Regions from separate parts of the Homo sapiens genome. Here region 2 is linked to region 1. The links are contacts of gene promoters, found by promoter capture Hi-C in blood cells and fetal thymus (Javierre and others, 2016). All regions are on one chromosome and are shown on one strand. Each heading gives the region's core, a stretch centred on a gene start or on the middle of the fragment in contact. The rest is flanking DNA. Distances are from core to core; before and after follow the strand shown. Region 1 holds the start of SIGLEC9 (sialic acid binding Ig like lectin 9). Region 2 holds the start of CEACAM16-AS1 (CEACAM16, CEACAM19 and PVR antisense RNA 1).

The links. Contacts are between HindIII fragments. The CHiCAGO score rates a contact against its expected background, and 5 or more counts as called.
Region 2: a contact is called between the fragment with the promoter of CEACAM16-AS1 here and the fragment with the promoter of SIGLEC9 in region 1, in 1 of 17 cell types (activated CD4 T cells). The highest score is 7.1, in activated CD4 T cells.

The regions. Positions count from the first base shown.
Region 1 is chr19:51,120,654-51,128,542 of GRCh38, forward strand. SIGLEC9 (sialic acid binding Ig like lectin 9) reads left to right here and starts at 4,253. Exons shown (of 7, transcript NM_014441.3): 1 at 4,253-4,742; 2 at 4,944-5,222; 3 at 5,428-5,475; 4 at 6,377-6,643; 5 at 7,296-7,386; 6 at 7,761-7,857. The coding sequence starts at 4,322. The HindIII fragment of the contact is 17,590 bases long and covers 1-7,889 here.
Region 2 is chr19:44,721,857-44,729,745 of GRCh38, forward strand. It overlaps CEACAM16-AS1 (CEACAM16, CEACAM19 and PVR antisense RNA 1), which reads right to left and starts at 3,327. Exons shown (of 2, transcript NR_186815.1): 1 at 2,981-3,327. RefSeq lists enhancers at 446-595, 726-835, 906-965. The HindIII fragment of the contact is 7,565 bases long and covers 237-7,801 here.

The DNA.
Region 1 (7,889 bases), core at 3,003-5,502:
TCAGCCTTATCCCACAGCCATGTGACCATGGCAGCAACCTCACCTGTCAGGTGAAGTTCCTCCGAGCTGGTGTGACCATGGGGAGAACCATCCAGCTCAATGTCTCTTATGAGTGGTGGATCAGGACCCCCATGCCCAGGGCCCTGAGAACAATGGGTGTCAGGAGGGAAGGGAGGTCAGAATCAGGAATTCTTTTTTTTTTTTTTTTTTAAGACAGAGTCTCGCTATGTCACCCAGGCTTGAGTGCAGTGGCGCAATCTCTGCTCACTGCAGCCTCCGCCTTCCAGGCTCAAGCGATCCTCCTGCCTCAGCCTCCCAAGTAGCAGAGACTACAGGTGGCACCACCATGTCCAGCTAATTTTTAAATTTTGGGCAGAGATGGGTTCTCACTGTGTCACCCAGTTTGGTGTTGAACTCTTAGGCTCAAGTGATCCTCCTGCCTCGGCCTCCCAAAGTGTTGGGATTACAGGCGTGCACCACTGTGCCTGGCCAGAGTATGAGTTTTTTTGTTTTTTGTTTTGAGATGGAGTCTCGCTCTGTCACCCAGGCTGGAATGCAGTGACATGATCTCGGCTCACTGTAACCTATGCCTCCCGAGTTCAGGTGATTCTTATGCCTCGGCCTCTGGAGTAGCTGGGATTACAGGCACCTGCCACCATGCCCGGCTCACCCTTGCCTGGCTCAGCTTTGAGCTCTGTCTTGATGCCTCTCCTACTTTCTGCCCCTTGATCCTCCTCTTATGCATGGCGTCTCTCTTCCCCCATTTACCCCATTCAGGATGCAGCACTTCCTCCAAATGTCACCCTTTTCATCCACTGTACTCATGAGCCAGTGGGTGCTGTAACTTCCCTTCCTGAACAATGTCTCCCGTCATGCCCTCCTTGCTTAGTCCCCTGTCCTCCATCAGCATGACCAGGCCCTTTGCTGTCTTTTTTTTTTTTTTTTTTTTGAAGATGAAGTTTCGCTCTTGTCGTCCAGGCTGGAGTGCGGTGGCAGGATCTCGGCTCACTGCAACCTCCGCCTCCTTGGTTCAAGTGATTCTCCTGCCTCAGCCTTCTGAGTAGCTGGGATTACAGGAGCATGCCACCATGCCTGGCTAATTTTTGTACTTTTAGTAGAAACAACTTTTCACCATGTTGGTCAGGGTGGTCTCGAACTCCTTGACCTCAGGTGATCCAACCGCCTTGGCCTCCCAAAGTGCTGGGGTTACAGATCTGAGCCGCCGCACCCAGCCTCTTTGCTGTCTTGATCATTGTTCCATGCCCCTCCCCAGCCTCCCATCTTCCCTTCATGCTGTGCCCCTGATAGCACAAGCCCAGAAAGACCTTCCTGTACCCAGTACCAGCCCCACCCCTTCCTGGCCCAGAGTCCCCTGTGACTCCTCGGCACCCTCAGTCTAAGCTCCTCAGCTGGTCATGCCCCAACACCTCCATGTCCCCTTGGAAGACCCCAGATATATGTGCAGGTCTCTTCATCTGCCAGACTGTTTCAGAGCCTTTGCACATCCCTCGTCCTTCACTTGTGATGCCTGTCTGTCTTGCGTCAATATGACCCACTCCCCCTTCCAATCTCAGTTCAGCCTCCTTCCCTCCAGGGTCTGTCAGCTAGCGTGGACTCCGGGATTTGTGTACATAAGAGCATGAGCCGGGCCAGGCTTGGTGGCTCACGCTTGTAATGCCAGCACTTTGGGAGGCTGAGGTGGGCAGATCACGAGGTCAGGAGTTCAAGACCAGCCTGACCAACATGGTGAAATCCCGTCTCTACTAAAAATACAAAAATTAACCTGGCGTGGCGGCACATGCCTGTAATCCCAGCTACTCAGGAGGCTGAGGCAGGAGAATCGCTTGAACGTGGGAGGCGGAGCTTGCAGTGAGCTGAGATCACGGCACTGTACTCTAGCCTGGGTGACAGAGCAAGACTCCATCTCAAAAAAAAAAAAAAAAAGCATGAGTCAAACAGTCATGTGTCTTCTGTCTCATTCCGAATGGGAGGTAAGGGAGAAACCGACCTCTCAGCACCACTCTTCCTGCTTTCTCTGTTTTTTTCGTCCAGCCCCAAAGACCCTGAACAATGGTACACCACTGCCTGTCCTGGAGGGAGAGTCCCTGTGGTCTGTGTGGCTGACAGCACCCCACCTCCCAACCCCGCCCGGCTGAGCTGGTCCTGAGAGGGAAGAACACTGAATTCCTCCCAGCTCTCAGCACCCGGGGGCCTGGAGCTGCCTCAGATAGGGGCTGGGACGGAGGAGCATTGACCTGTTGGGCTCACCACCCACTGCGATTTCAGCACATTTCCCTGAGCCTCTGTGCAGAGTGAGTTGCAGGACAGCTGCTGAGGCAGGCAGCCTAGTCGGGTGTTTGGGCTGTCAGAGGGGTGGAGGCCTGGGAACAGAATCTCACACGCTTCTACCCTTTCCCAGGAAGCCCCTCTGGCTACAGATGTGTGAGTGAAAAGCAGGAGGGCTTCTGGCCCCTGGTTCTCACCTGATCAGGGGGCCATCCTGGGCACTGGCTTCCCCCCAACCCCCATGGCCTCACCTGGAGCTACTACTCCAGGTGAGCAGGCCTGCTCTTTTCTAGGGAAGCCGAAGGATTGTTCCCCGAGTTCCAGGTGGGGCTGAGCTGTCCTGTCCCGCCTGAGTTAGAATTGAAGTGGCCGATGCTAATCTGAGGCCCGTGTTGGCTCTGCAGGTGTGGAGGGCCCCAGGGGAGCAGTGCTGAGAGGCCTGACTGAGCCCCTCCTGCTCAAGACAGAACTCAGATGTGGACACCCAGCCCTGCAGAACAGATGCAGGACAACACTGTCAGCCATGGCTCAGCCCTTCTGACCATTGCAGTTGAGATGCTGCAACTTCCCAGGGAGCGACTGGGCAAACATGGGGGCCTGAGGTATTCACGGCAACGTGCACAGATGATAAAACTACCTAGAAAAGCATGGAGACCATTAGCGTTAAAGTGAGGCTGGGGCTGCTTCAGGAGGAAGTGGGGTGTGGCTGACAGGAAGTGGGGTAACAAAGAGGAGGTGTTGCGGCATCCCCAGTGTTCTGTTTCTCTAAGCATGTTCATATGTGTAAACCGCTGAGATTTTTTCTTGGGGGGAAGACATTTTTATCTATATGGCTTATATTTCTCCCAAAAATATTTCTAGAAAACTGACATCGGTCTAAGGAGGCTCCACCACACAGGATACTCCCAGTTCCTCCCAGCCCAGCCACACAGTTACAAAAAATCTTCTGCTGAATTCAGGTGCATGTTTCTTCTCCCATGAAATCCTGCCCATCGCGGAGGGTGCATGCCCCGGGGCTGGTGTCCTCACTCCACATCTCCTGTTCACCGGGACCCCTGGGAGCAGAGCTTGCAGAAGCAAAGCCCCAGGGCCAGCTGATCCCTCATGTTCTGGAGTAACCAGGGAAGTGTGGCTGAGCGAGACATCGGTGGTGAAGAAACCCTTCGTGGTGCAGTGAGGAAAGGAGAAATATCTTCCCTTTTGAAATCTGCCCCTTTTCTTCCGAATTTCCTCCCTTCCAAGCCCCACAGTACAACAGTCACAGCCTCAGTTTCCCAGACCTCCTGCGAGCCAGGCTCCCCTCTGTGTCCTTGGCGTGTATCAACACATAGAATCCTCACCTCCACAGCCCCATGTCCCTCTGCTCAGTCCTCCTGAGATTGAACCCCTGACCTACGGGAGAGTGACCCCATCCTGCCTGTGCCCCCCAACTGAAGCTCCTGCCGTGGACAGCTCAGACGTCAGGAGCCTCCATGTCTCCCCTCCGCACAGTGACCCCTTGGGGACAGTGTCCAGCTCTGCTGTGTTGACCTCGTTGTGCAGAAAGGGGGTGCCCACCTCGTGCTTGCTTGGGGGGGATGAGAGGCTGCCTGCTCACCCCACCTGCACCCCCATCTCTCATGGCCCCAAGTCCCACCTCTGAGCTACGCAGATATCCACAGCCTCTGACTCAGGGGTCTGGCCAGATGGGACTCATTTTCACCCTGCAGAAAATGTCACCTAAGGGGAAGGGCATTGAGAGGGAGGCAGGAGGTGGGGTGGGCCCTGCATGGGGTGGGAATCTGGGTGAGTCTGTCTCCCGCTCTGGCCTCAGGGACCCAGGAGTGAACATGGGGTGGTGGACGGTGGATCTCCCAGGGCTGACCCGGGCCTGACAGTGTCTGGGTGTAAAGTTCCTCCTCTGAGGAGGTCACTGTTCCGACCTCGCCCCTGTCTTCCTGTAGGGCCTCCTCTAAGTCTTGAGCCCGCAGTTCCTGAGAGAAGAACCCTGAGGAACAGACGTTCCCTCGCGGCCCTGGCACCTCTAACCCCAGACATGCTGCTGCTGCTGCTGCCCCTGCTCTGGGGGAGGGAGAGGGCGGAAGGACAGACAAGTAAACTGCTGACGATGCAGAGTTCCGTGACGGTGCAGGAAGGCCTGTGTGTCCATGTGCCCTGCTCCTTCTCCTACCCCTCGCATGGCTGGATTTACCCTGGCCCAGTAGTTCATGGCTACTGGTTCCGGGAAGGGGCCAATACAGACCAGGATGCTCCAGTGGCCACAAACAACCCAGCTCGGGCAGTGTGGGAGGAGACTCGGGACCGATTCCACCTCCTTGGGGACCCACATACCAAGAATTGCACCCTGAGCATCAGAGATGCCAGAAGAAGTGATGCGGGGAGATACTTCTTTCGTATGGAGAAAGGAAGTATAAAATGGAATTATAAACATCACCGGCTCTCTGTGAATGTGACAGGTAAGGCACAGGCTCCAGGAAAGGCCACAGGGAAAGGTCATGGGGGCGGCAGGGAAAGGCTGGGATGGAGCCCCTGCCCCAGGAGAGGGCTTAGGGTGAAGCGAGTTGGCTCAGGGCAGGAGCTGGACCAGAGCCTGAGCTCCCCCCAGGGCTGCACCATGGATCCTCTGACCTGATCCTGAGTCCCCCTCTCTTCACCAGCCTTGACCCACAGGCCCAACATCCTCATCCCAGGCACCCTGGAGTCCGGCTGCCCCCAGAATCTGACCTGCTCTGTGCCCTGGGCCTGTGAGCAGGGGACACCCCCTATGATCTCCTGGATAGGGACCTCCGTGTCCCCCCTGGACCCCTCCACCACCCGCTCCTCGGTGCTCACCCTCATCCCACAGCCCCAGGACCATGGCACCAGCCTCACCTGTCAGGTGACCTTCCCTGGGGCCAGCGTGACCACGAACAAGACCGTCCATCTCAACGTGTCCTGTGAGTGCTGGGCCGGGACGCCTGGGTCCCTGATGGGGTGAGCGTCAAGCCTGGACACTGGGTGCTGGGTCCCGGAATCTGGGCTGGTGGTGGGGTCAGGAGGACACTGGCTCTGCCTTCCCTGTTTATGCGGCTCCTGGGGACAGACAGGGCCAGTGTCCCCAGCCCTCACAGTGATGCGGGTCTCCATGTCTTTCTGTCCCAGACCCGCCTCAGAACTTGACCATGACTGTCTTCCAAGGAGACGGCACAGGTAGGATGGAGCTCCCTCCCTGGGGCTGGAGGAGCAGGGCCTTCAGGTCAGGATGGGGCTGGCTTATTCCTCAACCTGGACTCACTTTGGCAAACAGGGATGTCCTTGTGGGTGAACTCAGGGCCCCTCTGTATCCTTAGGCCCCAAGGCCACTTGTTCCCATCCTCCCATCACCTCCCTTGGACTCCCCCACACACCCCCCCCTCAGCCTCAAACAAGAAGAGGGTGGCATTCACACAGCAGGACCAGGCTTTGAGGCTCCTTCTCATGTATCTCCTGAATACATCTCCACCCTTATCTGTTTATTTCTGATAGTTCTGATCTAAGTACTTCTGGACAGGTGATAAATGTCCATGGGCAAAAATTCAAATTGCAGAGCAAAGGCTCTCCTCCGATGCCTGCCCCCCTCCCCAGAACCAACCACTGTCCATCCAGGCTGCCCTGAGTCTCGGTTTGTACACCTGGAGGATCTCAGAGGTGGTTTGACGTCCGTAGTGAGACTGTCCGCACCCTCCTCTAGGGCTGTGTGTGAGTCCACTGCATGGATGGACTCTGATTTTGTGGCATCTCCTAATGGAAGATCACGGCACTAATTTCATCCTACGGCAGGATAGAACAATCTTGTATCTACTTCCACAGGAATATCTAAGCCTGTGGGTTAAGTTCCTAAAAGCAAAATGTAGCTACATTATATGTTCTTTCTTATTTTGAAAGATAAGCCCAAACTGTTCTCGATGAAGCGGGGAGAAGTTTACATTCCCAGCAGTGAGTGGTGAAAGTGTGTGTTTCCAGAACTTCAGTCTATGTCTGTGTGTCAGTTGCTGTCATCAGTCTCTTTCTGTATCCTTCCTTTTTCTCCAGATCTATGTATCTCTCTGACCCTCTGTCTCTTTTTCTACAGTATCCACAGTCTTGGGAAATGGCTCATCTCTGTCACTCCCAGAGGGCCAGTCTCTGCGCCTGGTCTGTGCAGTTGATGCAGTTGACAGCAATCCCCCTGCCAGGCTGAGCCTGAGCTGGAGAGGCCTGACCCTGTGCCCCTCACAGCCCTCAAACCCGGGGGTGCTGGAGCTGCCTTGGGTGCACCTGAGGGATGCAGCTGAATTCACCTGCAGAGCTCAGAACCCTCTCGGCTCTCAGCAGGTCTACCTGAACGTCTCCCTGCAGAGTGAGTGCACCAGTATGCTGGGGAGGGGCTGGAGAGGAGAACACACCTCCTCCACCCTTAGTAACTGCTGAGCGTGGACCTTCAGAGAGGAGCTCCGCTCTGGTCTGTGCTCAGCTGTGAGGTCTGGAACTTCCCTGGGACCCACAGCACCACTGTCCTCTTCCTGCCAGGGAAGGGTTGTGGGGTGGGGAGAGGGCAGGAGTGGATCTCAGAGGGGACAGGATGGGGCCGGACAGGTGTGTTTAGGGAGACAAGCGCCTTTCTTTGCAGGGCTGAACTGGAGTCACACAACTGAGATACTTGCTTTGAGCATCAAATTAAAAAAAAGAAAAAGCCCAGCAAGTCAGCAATCAAATGAAATCATATTGCAATGCAATAATCTTTTAAAAAAAGTAAAAATTGAATGCAAAACAAATTCATTAATGGATAAAATATTAAAATTGTGAAAAAAAACCCCAAAAGGAATGGCTGGCACTTGCACGCCTCACTGGCCTCAGGAAGAGTCTCTCCATGTCCTGCTCTCTCTCATTCCTGTTCTTTGTGTCTGGAAAGGGGAAGTGGAAATAGAAGTCTAGGACCCTACAGGAAGTGGGAGGAGAAGAGACCCAATTCTCTATGATATATCACAAAAATAACTCCCATCTGTCAACAGGCAAAGCCACATCAGGAGTGACTCAGGGGGTGGTCGGGGGAGCTGGAGCCACAGCCCTGGTCTTCCTGTCCTTCTGCGTCATCTTCGTTGTGTAAGCATGGACCCTAGAGAGGGAGGGAGGGAGAGCCCTGGGGGAGGACAGGCTGGAAGCTGGATCCCTGAAGCCAGAGCTGGAGGGACCTGGATGGGTCAAGAGCTTGGGGCAAGAAGGAGGTCACAGGTGCATGGTGAGAATTCCATGTGGGCCTGTGTTTGAGGAGCTTTGAGTCTGTGGCAAACCTTGGTACCCACTGTCCAGGAGAAGAGAGCCTCTGTTCTCAACCTTGGGGTCTCTAAGACTGGACCACTGCTTTCCCACCTCAGTCACCCCTGCAGTCCCTTAATAGGAAACACATGGGGGTACCTGGTCTGCCCACCGCACCCCAATCTGACCACACTGAAAGGCTCTCTGGTCTCTTCACTCAGAGTGAGGTCCTGCAGGAAGAAATCGGCAAGGCCAGCAGCGGGCGTGGGAGATACGGGCATAGAGGATGCAAACGCTGTCAGGGGTTCAGCCTCTCAGGTGAGTGATGTGGACTCTCCACAGCCAGCATG
Region 2 (7,889 bases), core at 2,077-4,576, 6.4 Mb before region 1:
TAATTTTTGTATTTTTAGTAGAGACGGGGTTTTGCCATGTTGGCCAGGCTGGTCTTGAACTCCTGACCTCAGGTGATCCACCTGCCTCAGCCTCCCAAAGTGCTAGGATTGCAGGTGTGAGCCATCATGCCCGGCCCTGATTCAGGTTCTAACAGGATCCCTCTGGCCATGAGGTGGAAAGAGACTGTTGGGGGCAGAATTGTAAAGCGAGGGACAAGAAGAGTCAGGGGTCTCCAAGCTTTGAGCCTGAGCCACTGCAAGGATGAAGCTGCCATTTCTGAGGCCAGAAGGCTGCAGGCAGGGCTGGGTTGGAGATTGGAATGAAGATAGGTCTTGTTTGAGGCCAATGAGGAGGGAGCCTCACCCGAGGCACACAGGCTCCAGGCGGGAAGTTGGCGACAAGTTGTGGACTGTGGTTTTCACCCACCTCATGGGGCCCCCTCATCCTCTCCCCCAACTTCCCCTCACGCCGTGGTGGAGCCAGCTTTGTTTGTTTCCCCCCCATCATCCGTTTCATGATGGGGAAGACTGGTTTTCCCCTAACCCAACAGACACCTCTTCCCTCAGCCTGTCCCTGACCCTCCCACCTCGGGAAGCCCCGAGCGGGCCTCCCAGAATGTCCCGGCAGGAAGGGGCTGCTGCTACCGTTCATCCAGCCAGATGAACCCCAAAAGGGGAAGTGGGTCACCCGTAGTCACCCGGCTCATGGTCAGCTCGGGACTTCAGGATCTCGTCTCTTCACTGCACCCACCACAGCCCTGGGAGGTTTTCCATGCACGCTTCTCATTCTCCCCACATTTCACACGAGAAAACAGGGGCTCCAAGAGAGGCCCACACTCACCTAAGGAGCTCCAAAGATAGGGGCATCTGGATTTGAACCCAGGTCCTAGCAGATGTTGTTAGCTCAGAGGAGAAGGCAGAGAGGGTGAACAGAACCCAGCCTGCCCTCCCAGATCCAGTGGGAAGGCAGACTTGTCCCCAGGTAATAATAGCCCAGCAGTGTTCACAGCCTGGGATGGAGGAGCCCAGGAGGCTGCAGGAGCTCAGAGCGCATGCCTGACCCAGCCTGGGGTCAAGGAGGGCTTCCTGGAGGAAGGGACAGCTCATCTGATACCTAGAGGATGAGTGGGAGTTACTAGGTGTAAATAGTGCAGGGAGAGGGAAGAGTATGTGCAAAAGCCTAGGGTTGAGAGGAAACCTAGGGGCTCCAGCAAGGCGCAGTGGCTCATGCCTGTATTCCCAGCACTCTGGGAGGCCGAGGCGGGCGGATCATCTGAGGTCAGGAGTTCAAGACCAGCCTGGCCAACATGGTGAAACCCTGTCTCTATTAAAATACAAAAATTAGCCAGGCGTGGTGGCGTGCACCCATAATCCTAGCTACCTGGCAGGCTGAGGCACGAGAATTGCCTGAACTTGGGAGGTAGAGATTGCAGTGAGCCAAGATCACGCCACTGCACTGGCGACGAAGTCAGATTCCATCCCTCTCTCTCAAAAAAAAAAAAAGCTGGGGGGAGCCTAGGGGCTTCTAAATCCGATCGTGTCCTGGCCCTGATTAAACTCTCCTACAGCTGCCCTGGCAAACTCTTTAGCTTGGCATTCATTCATTCATTCATTCATTCACTCATTCATTCCATAAACATTCCCTGGAGTGCATTGTCAGTGTCAGGCCCCAGGGGAACACAGCAGTGACCACGACAGCCCCACCAGACCATGACCCTGACCAGGGGGCTCACGAGGGCGGAGACATCTACTCCAAGACCTGAAGGAGGAGTAGGAGAGATGCTGGGGAAGAGGCAGGGAAGGGTGTTCCTGGCAGAGGGAACAGCCTGTGCGAAGGCCTGAAGGTAAGTTTTGCATATGACACCTTTGAGAAACTACTTATTGTTCAACTGAAGCATAGGGTTGTTCAGAAGAAGCCAGCCTTGTGGCCGGGTGTGGACTTCCTCCCAGGGCACCAGGGAGCCACTGCAGAGTTGTGAGCAAGGGACAGACAGAGGTAGGCTTGTACTTCCAAGAGACTCCCCCAGCTGCCACATGCAGGGTGAATGGAATGATGCACAGAATCCAGTTTCAGGGGTAGTTTGGTACTTGGACCCAGGTCCCAGGGAGAGAGTCCAAGGAGCCCTTCTCTGGTCTTCCAAGGAGCTGCTCTCCCCAAGCTCCGGATGGAAGGCGTGCCCATGGCAACCGCTAGGTGGTGCCCGTACACCACCAGCCAGGTCTTTTTTTGCCAAAAGTAGATCAGGCCCAGAGCTGGGCAGAACTGCCCCTGGGTCAGGAGAGCAAATCGTCTCTGTCTTTTGGTCCTGGCTCCCTGGCCAGGCATCCTGGGGCCATTTGACTCCCAGGCTCAGGAAGGAGCTGGCTGAGCTGCAGTGAGTATGTTCTTCGTCTCTTTCCTCACCTTGGAATCTCAGACGGGAGCACCCTGGCTCCCACTTCAGACAGGAAGATTCTTACCTCCCTCATCAGACTAGCAGGCTCTTTGTCTCCCCACCAGTTTGAGGGGCTCCCCATTTCTATCATTCATTTGGAAGCTCATCAGCTCTCCCAGAAGGCATGGGAGCCCTTCAACACCCCCATCAGACTAGGACTACCCATCTCCCCCATCAAATTAGAACTGCATTGTCTCACACATCAAAGTATCACTCCTGGCCAGGTGCAGTGGCTCCCGCCTGTAATCCAAGCACTTTGGGAGGCCGAGGCAGGAGGATCACCTGAGGTCAGAAATTCAAGACAAACCTGGCCAACACGGTGAAACCCGGTCTCTACTAAAAATAACAAATTAGCCAGGCGTGGTGGTGTGCGTCTGTAATCCCAGCTACTCAGGAGGCTGAGGCAGGAGAATCGCTTGAACCCAGGAGGCACAGGTTGCAGTGAGCCAAGATCACACCACTGCACTCCAGCCTGGGCGACAGAGCGAGACTCTGACTCACAAAAATAAATACATTGTCTTACACATCAGAATGTTGCTCCTTACCTCCCCTGGCAGACTGGAAATATAGACTGGACACTCGTTCTTGCTGCACAGGACTGGAGCTTCTTATCTTCTTCATTGGATTTGGACAGTCCTGTCTCCCTCATGGGATTTGGTGAGAGCTCCTTAGTTTCCTTATTTTTCCCACTGTGTTGGGCCACCTTGTCCCCACCATCAGATTGGGGAACACCTTGTCTCCCAGTCAGACCAGAGGGGCGGACTCCTCTGCCCTTGCAAAGGTTCCTAGGTCCTTCTTACATCCATAGGAGGAACCATGCCTATTTTACCAAGAGGGAAACTGAGGCACAGAGAAACAAAGCACCACTTCTCTGTCCAGCTGCAGATGCCTCCACCTCCCCCTCCGCCCGCTCCTCTGCCCCTGCCCTCCCCCGCCCCCGCCCCTGACCTGGGTAACTCCCCTGGCACCGGGAGTAGGGGAATTTTGCCCTGCTGGCCTCTGCACCAACCACCTCCCCTTATCGGCAGCGTCGCCACCAGTGGCGGCCCAGGGTTAAAGTCCGGAGAGAGCTCCGGGCGCGAAGCGGATAGGGAGGGAGGAGTGGCGCCCAACCCAGAACGGGGACTCCCCGGAGGTCGAGCCCTCACGCTGCTGGGAGGAGAGGGGATGGGCAGGGCCGTGTCCCATGGTAAGGTGTGGGTTCAATCCTTCCTTTCTAGTTCCCGGCTGTGTGGTCTTGAACCTGGAACTTCACCCCAACTGGGAGCCTCAGCTTCTCCAGCTTTAAGGAGTCAGGGGCGTGAAAATGTCCAAGCTCTGGAGTCAGACTCCAGGAGTTTGAATGCTGGCTCCTATAACCTGCTGTGTGAGATCTGGGGCCAGCGAGTGTGTCTCTCTCAGCCTCAGTTTCCCCAGCTGTGCAATGAGGATACCTAGTGGGTGGTGGTGAACGCTCCATGAGTTTACGCACAAGAAAACCTTGGGACAGTGGCTGATAGTGGCGCCAGCAAGCCAGCATGCACCCCACCCTTTCCTTCCAAGAAAATTGCCTCCTAAATCTATGATTGGTAACCTTCACCCCTCCCTCTTTGACCCACCTCCTAACCCAGGCCACCTGGTGTCTTGCTGCACAGCTGGTCTCCCTGCCCGCACCACACCCAGAGGCGTCCTTGGAAACCCAACCCTGACCCCTGGTCAGAATCTGCCATGGCTCCCCAGTGCCCCCAGGAGAAAGCCAAGTGCTGTGCCACAGCCACAGCCTGACCACTCACTGCTTGTATTTTTTTTTCTTTTTCTTTCTTTTCTTTTCTTTTTCTTTTTTTTTTTTTTTTTTTAAGACAGGGTCTTGCTCTGGCCCCAGGCTGGAATGCAGTGGTGCCATCATAGCTCACTGCAGCCTCAACCTCCTGGGCTCAAGCAATCCTCCCACCTCAGTCTCCTGAGTAGCTGAGACTACAGGCACATGCCACCACACCTGGGTAAATTTTTAAATTTTTTTTTTAGCGATAGGGTCTCACTCATTGCCCAGGCTGGTCTTAAACTCCTGGGCTCAAGCGATCCTCCCGCCTCAGCCTCCCAAAATGCTTGGACTACAGGTATGCACCACCGCGCCCAGCCTCCTTTCTGGTTTTCTAATAAAGCCTTTTGTTCACCTCCTTCAAACACTTCCCCATGCTCTTCAGGTCTCAGCTCAAACAGGCCAGGCCCGGTCCCCTGGGTCCTCTCTGTCCTCCGTCTCCTGGTTCCCTGTACCTCTCCAAAAGCCCCCACGACCAAAAGAAGTAAAGATGTAGGGCCGGGCGCGGTGGCCTACACCTGTATTTCCCAGCACTCTGGGAGGCTGAGGTAAGTGGATCACCTGAGGTCACGAGAACCGATTGAACCCCAGAGGCAGAGGTTGCAGTGAGCCGAGATTGCGCCACTGTACTCCAGCCTGGGCGACACAGAGAGACTCAACCTCAAAAAAAAAAAAAAAAAATGGTGGCTGGGCAAGGTGGCTTATGCCTGTAATCCCAGCACTCTGAGAGGCCAAGGCAGGCAGATCACTTGAGCCCAGGAGTTCGAGACCAGCCTGGGCAACATGGTGAAAACCCGTCTCTACAAAAAATACAAAACTTAGCTGGGTGTGGTGGCATGCGCCTGTAATCCCAGCTACTCAGGAGGCTGAGGCATGAGAATCGCTTGAATCCGGGAGGTGGAGGCTGCAGTGAGCCAAGATCATGCGACTGCACTCCAGCCTGGGTGACAGTGCAAGACTCTGTCTCAAAAAAAAAAAAAAGTTCCCACTCTGGTCCAGCCACCATCACTGAAGGCCCGGACCATGCAGTCACCTCCTCATGGGACTCCCTGCCTGGGTCCTTGCTGCACCTCCACAAGGACCTGTCTTTCCCCCACATGCAGCCACAGGGATCCTGTTAACACCTAAGTCATCAGAAGGCTGAGGCGGGAGGATCGCTTGAGCCCAGGAGGTCGAGGCTATAGTAAGCCAAGATGGCACCACTGTACTCCAGCCTGGGCAACACAGTGAGACCCTGTCTCTAAACAGTAATAATAATAACAAATTAAATTAAATTAAAACCTGGCCTGGGCATGGTGGCTCATGCCTGTAATTCCAGCACTTTGGGAGGCCGAGGCAGATAGAGTACCTGAGGTCAGGAGTTGGCCAACATGGTACCTGACCAACGTGGTGAAACCCTGTCTCTATTTTAAAAATATAAAAATTAGCTGGGCCTGGTGGCACATGCCTGTAATTCCAGCTACTCAGGAGGCTGAGGCAGGAGAATCGCTTGAACCTGGGAGGCGGAGGTTGCAGTGAGCCCAGATGGCATCACTACACTCCAGCCTGGGCGACAGAGCGAGACTCCATCTCGAAAAAAAATAAAAAATGAAGTCAGATTATCCCTCCCCTGCCCAGAACCCTCCATGGCTCCCATCTCCCTCTGAGTAAAAGCCTATGTCCCTACAGTGGCTCATAAGATCCTGAGCCATCTCCTTGCCACCCTTCCCCTCTCCCCATCCTCCCACTCTCCCCCAGCTCATCCTGCTCCAGCTACACTGGCCTCCAACAGCTGTTCCGACCCACCTCTGGGCCTTGGCACTTGCTGTTCCCTCTGCCTAGAATACTCTTCCCCCAGATGTCCACATGGTTCATTCCCTCCCCTCACTCAAGTCTTAGCCCCAAACGTCATTCCTTGGAGGGCCTCCCTTGGCCACCAGATTTAAACAACAGCTTCCACTTCCTATGCTCCATCTCCCTCATTCCCTCACCAGTTTTATTTTTCTCCATAGCAAATACATACCATTGGCTGTATTTTCCTTGTCTTGTTGACTGTCTCCTGGATGGATGGACGAGTCTGTGGCTCCCCAAGGGCAGGAATCTTAGTTGTTCAACACCAGGGCAGGGCCTGGAAAACCTGTTAGCAGAGTGAATGAATTGTGTGTGTGTTTTGAAAAGGTAAGGTGTTCACAAGTTCCAAAATTCAAAAAGGACCAAATGGCAGTGAGCTGTCACTTCCCCACCACGACTCTGCCCCTCCCTCCCCAGTCCTGTTCTCACCTCCCAGTTTCCGTTTTTTTGTTTTGTTTTGTTTTGAGACAGGGTCTCACTCTGTCACCCAGGCTGGAGTACAGTGGTGCCAGCATAGCTCACTGCTGCTTCCACATCCTGGACTCAAATGATCCTCCCACCTCAGCCGCCCTAGTAGCTGGGGCCATAAGCACGCACCACCATGCCCAGCTAATTTTTGTATTTTTGGTAGAGACGGGGTTTTACCACGTTGCCCAGGCTGATCTCGAACTCCTGGGCTCAAGTGATCCATCCACCTTGCCCTTGCAAAGTGCTGGGATTACAGGCGGGGGCCGCTTTGCAAATGGTGCACAGTCTTGCTGTGGCCTGCATTTTCCCCTAGCAATACAGCAATACATCTGGAAAATCACACCGCATCAGCACCTTCTTTTTTTTTTTTTTTTTTTTAATAATTGCATGCACAGTGTCGACTTGTGGACAGACGAGAGCTCTTGCCGCAATTGTTATTATATTTCAGGAGTGGTGTGGCGTGGTGCCTAAGACCTCAGTGTCATCTCTCAGACCCGGATTCACCTCGTAGCTCTACAGCCAGAACTCCCACAGGCTGCTGGTGGGCGTGCAAGCCCCGAGCAGCCACTTTGGAAAATGGTTTGCCAACTTCCCGCAAGGTTAAATACACACTTCCCATAGGATCCAACAATTTTATTCCTCGGTATTGACCCGAGAGAAATGAAAACCTATTTTCACACAAAAAAACTGTATGCACACACACTCACAGCAGCTCTGTTCATAATTGCCAACAACTGTAAACAACCCAAATGTCCTTCAGCTTGTATGTGGATAAGCGAGCTGTGGTCCATCCACACAATGGAATATCACTCAGCAGTGAAGACTAACTGCTATTGATACACACAACGTGGATGGACCTCAACTGTGTTATATTGAGTGAAAGAAGCTATGCTCAAAAATTACAGTGTTCAGCCGAGTGCAGTGGCTCACGCCTGTAATCCCAGCACTTTGGGAGGCCAAGGTGAGAGAATTGCTTGAGCCCAGGAGTTTGAGACCAGCCTGGGCAACATGGTGAGACCCCATCTCTATAAAAATATTGATGATGATGGTGATGATGATGATGATGATAATGATAATAACTACATTACTCCATTTACAAGACACTCTGAAAAAGGCAAAACTAGAGGGACAGAAAACAGACCTGTGGTTGCCAGGGGTGGGGTGGGGGATGGGCGTGACCCCAAAAGGGCAGATGAAGGGTTTTAGGGGTGGTGGGACATATCCATATTTTGATTCTGGTGGTGACTACACAGCCACATGAGCCTGTCAAAGCTTTAAGAACTGCATGCCCCACAGGCACTTCGAGAGGCCAAAGCAAGAGGCCAGGAGTTGAAGACCAGCCTGGGCAACATAGTGAG